Linked DNA regions of Homo sapiens: region 1 is linked to region 2. The links are contacts of gene promoters, found by promoter capture Hi-C in human tissues and cell types (Jung and others, 2019). All regions are on one chromosome and are shown on one strand. The core of a region is centred on a gene start or on the middle of the fragment in contact, and the rest is flanking DNA. Distances in the headings are between cores, read along the strand shown. Region 1 has its middle 13 kb from the start of C2CD5-AS1. Region 2 holds the start of PYROXD1 (pyridine nucleotide-disulphide oxidoreductase domain 1).

What was found. The method cuts DNA at HindIII sites, captures the fragments that hold promoters and counts their contacts. A contact is called where the count stands out against the background at its distance.
Region 1: a fragment that was not itself captured here is called in contact with the fragment with the promoter of PYROXD1 in region 2 in 1 of the 25 tissues and cell types used here (H1 embryonic stem cells).

The regions. Positions count from the first base shown.
Region 1 is chr12:22,564,124-22,566,936 of GRCh38, forward strand. No RefSeq gene overlaps it. Among named protein-coding and RNA genes, the nearest start is that of C2CD5-AS1, 13 kb to the right of the region's middle. The HindIII fragment of the contact is 4,924 bases long and covers 1-2,813 here.
Region 2 is chr12:21,436,077-21,439,104 of GRCh38, forward strand. It overlaps PYROXD1 (pyridine nucleotide-disulphide oxidoreductase domain 1), which reads left to right and starts at 1,579. Exons shown (of 12, transcript NM_024854.5): 1 at 1,579-1,738. The coding sequence starts at 1,655. RefSeq lists enhancers at 1,408-1,487, 1,538-1,727. The HindIII fragment of the contact is 3,974 bases long and covers 1-2,604 here.

The sequences.
Region 1 (2,813 bases), core at 67-2,566, 1.1 Mb after region 2:
TGGGCTCAAGTGATCCTCCCATCTCAGCCTCCCAAGTAGCTGGGTCCACAGGGGTGTGCCACAGCACCAAGCTAGTTTTTTTATTTTTTACAGAGATAAGGTCTTGCTATGTTTCTCAGGCTGGTCTCGAACTCCCGGGCTCAAGCGATCCTCCCTCCTCGGCCTCCCAAAGTGCTGGAATTACAGGTGTGAGCCACTGGACCTGGTCCTCCTTACCATTAGCATTTTGATGATGCTATTATCAGTTGACACAGTTAGTCTCACACTCTCCTCCTTGAAACAATTTGTTCACTTGGTTTCCAGGATATCCCATTTCCAGTTGTCTGCCTTCCTCAATGGGCCACTCCTCCATTGTCTCATTTACTCATTTCTTCTCATGTCTCCTGCCTATAAACCAGTAGTTTTCAAACTTTTTGGTATCAAGGCCCCATTTACATTCTTAAAAATTATTAAAGCTCTCAAAGAGCTTTTGGTTATGTGGCTTTTATCTATCAGTTATGATTGTATCAGAAATTAAAGTTGAGACTTGAAAAGAATTATTGATTAATTTGTTTAAGTATGATAATTAGAAACCCACTACATGTTAACAGAAATACAATTTTTATGAAAAAATAGCTACATTTTCAAAACCTATGTACAATTTTTATGAAAAAAACTGTTTTTCAAAACAAATTAGTGAGAAAACTGGTATTGTTTTATAGTTTTGAAAATGTATTTACTGTCTAGTGTGGGGCTAGGTTCTGCAAACTACAGCCTATTGGACAAATTCAGACCACTGCTTGTTTTTATAAATATTTATTGGAATACAACCATGTTCATTAACTTACACAGTATTTGTGGCAGCTTTCTCACTACAATGAAAGAGTTGCATATTTGTGACAAAGAGAGACTATATGGCAGGCAAATCCTAAAATATCAACTATTTGGACTTTCATGGAAAAGGTTTGCCCACTCCTATTCTAGTTTAAAAGAAGACAGCTGGAGTGTCATTTCTCCTTCTAATTCAATCTATTCTAATGCATTGTTTGGGTTGAAGGATATGAAGAAAATCTGACCTAACTTAGGTAATATATTTGGAAAAAGGAAGAGTATTTTAATAGTCTTTTGAAATAATTTTGGATGTCCCCCTTTGATTTTGTACTTGAACTCCAAGTGGTAGTTTCTTGAAGGTCACTTGTAAAGTGCAATCTAAAGCTGTATCAGTAAACTTTTTGTACTCAGTTATGTGAAAATCTATTGTCTATCCTGCACTTTAAATGGCTTTTTTACCCATTCATGATTTTGTAACATTATGCATTGGTCAATTAGAAAATATTAGTTCCCTGAATTATGCAGATTTTTCAAATGTTGACACATCTCATTATATAATATCAAAAAATCACATTTCCTAATATCACTACTGATCTCACCTGACAATATTGGGAAGCTGTCAAGCTTACAGAGGCAAATCTTCCAAAATTTTTGCTTGAAAGTTTAAATGTTATCACTGGCAACAAATACAGTCAGTTGTTTTCCTTAAAGTGACAAGGTCACTTGGTTATTTTCTTTCTTTTTTTTTTTTTTTTTTTTTTTTTTTTGAGACGGAATCTCTCTCTGTCACCCAGCCTGGAGCGCAGTGGCGCGATCTCGGCTCACGGCAAGCTCCGCCTCCTGGGTTCCCGCCATTCTCCTGCCTCAGCCTCCCGAGTAGCTGGGACTACAGGCACCCGCCACCGCGCCCGGCTAATTTTTTTGTATTTTTAGTAGAGACAGGGTTTCACTATGTTAGCCAGGATGGTCTCAATCTCCTGACCTCGTGATCCACCCACCTCGGCCTCCCAAAGTGCTGGGATTACAGGCGTGAGCCACCGCACCCGGCCTACTTGGTTTATTTTCAAGAAAATGTCTGCCAAAAACCCAAGTTTGAATAAACCTAATTTTTCTGTTAGTTGATTTTCAGATAAAAAAATGTGTTTCATAAAGAAAGTCATCCAGCCTTCAATTCAAACAATGGCACAAGTGTCTTTCCTTGAGCCAATCAAAGTATTTTACTTTGGACCAGAAGTACTTTATGAGAAGTTTCCATGTTTTTACACTGAACATTGTTAATAAATAGATGTGTAATAAAGGATCATCAGGAATGGTTACTCTCTCCTCAGAGGCATTCTTACATTTTCATTTTAAACTACGAGAACAATAGTTGGCATTTCATTTTAACTACAAGAGCAACAGTGGTGAAGCATATAATAACTTCTAATTGAGTTTAGTACCACTGTCTTTGATTTATGCTGAAGTGACAGCAATTTACCCACCATTGTTTTTGTATTTCAGTGCGATTGTCAACACAGTAAAAAAAGAAAAAAAAAAGGCAGATAATATCTTTGTATGATTATGAAAATGTAGTTTTGACCTCCAGGTTTCCATATAAGAGTCTTAGGGAACCCCATGGGACCACAGATCATACTTTGAGAACAGCTGCTCTAAACATTGAAGTGTCTGTCTCAGAATTTAGTTATTGGATCTTCTCAATTTGCTCTAAATCCCTAGAAAATTCCATCTAGACTCATGGCTTTCAATCTTATTTCTATGCTCACAACTCTGAAGTTTATATCTCATATATAAATCAAGAATCATTGTCCTGCAGACTGGATGTCTATAGGTATTTCTAACTTAACATTCCTGAACAGAATCCCTGATGTTATTGTCCTCCCCCAGCTTACTAGTTTTGCCCTTTTTCTCATGTCATCATCTGGCCAAAAAATCCTTGAGACTTCTTGATTCTCTTTCTTTCACCTCACATTAAATCTATCAACAAACTTTCTCATAATTTAGAA
Region 2 (3,028 bases), core at 329-2,828:
CAACTTCCTATTTCGTTGAGCACATTTTTGTTGAATACATACTCCCTACTAAACATTGGAGATACAAAGGGAGACAAAAATAATCCCTGAGATTATGTAAGCAGTTTATGGTGGTGGTGGGGTCAGGCAGTAAGAATTTACAATAAAGTGGGATAAGTCTAAATTTAGAGGATGACAAAGTGCTATAAGAACACACGGAGAGGACACCTAGCTGTCTTGAGGATGTTAGATAAAGTATCTTAAAGGGGAAGCAATGGCTTGATGAAACCAAAGGTTGATGAGTTAGCCAGGGAAAAGTAGTTGGGAAAAAGATATGTGCAAATGCTCAGAAAGAAAATGGCATATCCTGGGATCTGGAAGTGTAGTGTGGCCTGAATGGAACACAGTGTGAGTGAGATAATGTGAAAATAAGCTGAAGCAAGATGAGATCTAAATGGGCTTAAGGAATGTATTTCCTCCTCCTAGAAATGAATGCTTTGTTTGGTTGCTATACTAGTAACAGGAATTAGACACGTTTATTAAACCGCTTACCATTTAACTTGGTAAATCAAAGAACAATGATTTTTACAGGTATCAGTAAATGCCTGTAATTAGATACGTGGTAGGCTTTCCTGTTAATATATAATGGTTATTCTCAGTGTTTAAAGAATTAAAGGGACTCGGGTAATTACCAGTTTTAGAGTGAACCATTTGAGAGATAATACCTTACCATTACAAAACAACTCCTAGGGAAAGTTATATGAGACAGCAAAGGTAATAGTAAATAGTAAAATAATATGAATAGTGAATAATATAGTAAAAACAGTTAAAAATGATTTAGCAATTTCTTAAAAACAATTGACCACGAAAAAAATTCACAGTAAAACCGAGACTGGGAATATTTCATTCAACCCTCACACATGCTGCTATTGACTGGAAATTTAAGAAATGTTCATTTGTTTTGACAAAATGGAAAGCAACTGTACATTCTTCCTGGAAACTTTAGCTGAGGTCAAAGTTGTAAATGAAAAGGATGATTTTTTAGAGAACAATTCAGTAGTATTGTTTTGCCTTGTCATGAAGAATTTTTGTGCTTCCACAAACAAAAATCTTGGATTGTTAGGTGAACGGTGGCAATCAAGTGGTTTTCAGAAGACTCAAGTTTCTTCATCTACAAAAATGACAGGAGTGGGGTCAGGATGTTCCCGAAGGCTCCTTCTACTCATAAGAGCATAAAATCTGTGCCTCTAATTTCTCGCAGAAACAAATAATGAGAACTTCACACCAATTCATTTATTATATGAATGTTTTGTCCCGTGAGAACACTGGTCTATCTTTAGATATGTAATTTATCAAACTTCTTTGGGCAACCCATCTTCTTTACTTTTTTATTTTTAATTTTTTGGTTTTCTCTTTGTCAAATTTTCATGGAATAACTACATTCAGGTGTAGTAATAGTAACGCAAAGCTCTGAACACCACGAGACAATTCGTTGCTTCCGAAACGCAGCCGGCAGCAGGTACTCGAGATGAGTAGTGTGAGCTCCCGAGCACCCGTAGGTCGGATTATCTGGTAAGGCACCGGAAGTGACCGCCTCGCGGCTGCTTCCTCTCCTGGAGTCCAGAGTCCCGTTGCTCCGCCGCGATATTCAGTAAACCACTGGGAGTCCGGCAGCATGGAGGCAGCGCGCCCTCCCCCGACGGCAGGGAAGTTCGTGGTGGTCGGCGGCGGCATCGCGGGCGTCACTTGTGCGGAGCAGGTAGGGCGGTGCTCAGGCGGTTCCGCCTCTTTCCCCGACCCCAAAGGGGATAGCACTGGAGGCCTTCCTCCCACCCCCTCCCTTTTTCTTCTTCCGGGTTCCTTTTTTGCTGCGCCCTTTTCCGCACTTATTGCTCCCAGATTTTAGAAACTGCTTGGTGGTCCTCAGATGACCTCACTAGCTTTCTCTTAGGCGCAGGGAGGAGTGGGAGGCAAATTATAGCCGAGAAACCAAAGCTGGCTGATCCGTGCTCAGATCCTTGTAATGTCAGAGCAGACATGAGGACTTTGTATTTAGACAAAAAATTCAGCCCCCTTTCTTTTTATTTTTTTTTCTTTTTCTTTGAGACGGAGTCTCACTCTGTCGCCCAGACTGGAGGGCAGTGGTGCGATCTTGGCTTAATGCAAGCTTTGCCTCCCGGGTTCAAGCGATTCTTCTGTTGCGTCAGCCTGTAGCTGGGATTACAGGCGCCAGCCACCACGCCCCGCTAATGTTTGTATTTTTAGTAGAGACGGGCTTTCACCATGTTGGCCAGGCTGGTCTCGAACTCCTGGGCTCAAGCAGTCTGCCCGCTTCCGCCTACCGAAGTGCTGGCATTACAGGCCTGAGCCACAGCACCCGGCCCTCAGCCCCCTTTGTTAATTATCGTAGGTGATTGAGTTTAGTTTCCAGATAGTTGCCAAGTCTTTAGTGCATCTTAACTAATTAATAAAGAATCCCATATGTAAGTTTTCTATACTTCGAACTCCCAAGATAGAAGAAACTTTATTTCTAGTAAAGTTTTGTAAAATAATCAGCGAAGGATTAAATGCATGTAGGGCTTGCTTTCTTGATTATACTGAATAGCCAGACCATATATATTCAGATACATGTGTGTATTCCAAAAAGTTCTACATTATTTTGTTGATATAAAGTAAACATGAGCAATCACTGAAGTCATAAGAAATAGTGGAAGAAACTCAAGTGTTTCCATCGTTGGATGCGTATTTTCCGTTTATTCACTAAGTAAACATATATGATGCAGGCACCGTATTAAGGGCTGAGTGTTCAACTATGAACAGCATGGTATATACCATGCTGGGGACTCACAGCCTGCTGGAAGAGACAATATTACAATATTGTATGTCTATGCAAGAGATATCAACGGTTATCTTAGAGGTGCCTGTGGAGTATGTAGGGAGTGAATTAGGGAAGAGGAAATTTTTTTAATCAAAGAAGGTATTTTTAAAATCTCATTATGAAAGAATGAGTGAAAGTTTACCAAGTATTCAAGAAAAGAATGTCATCTCC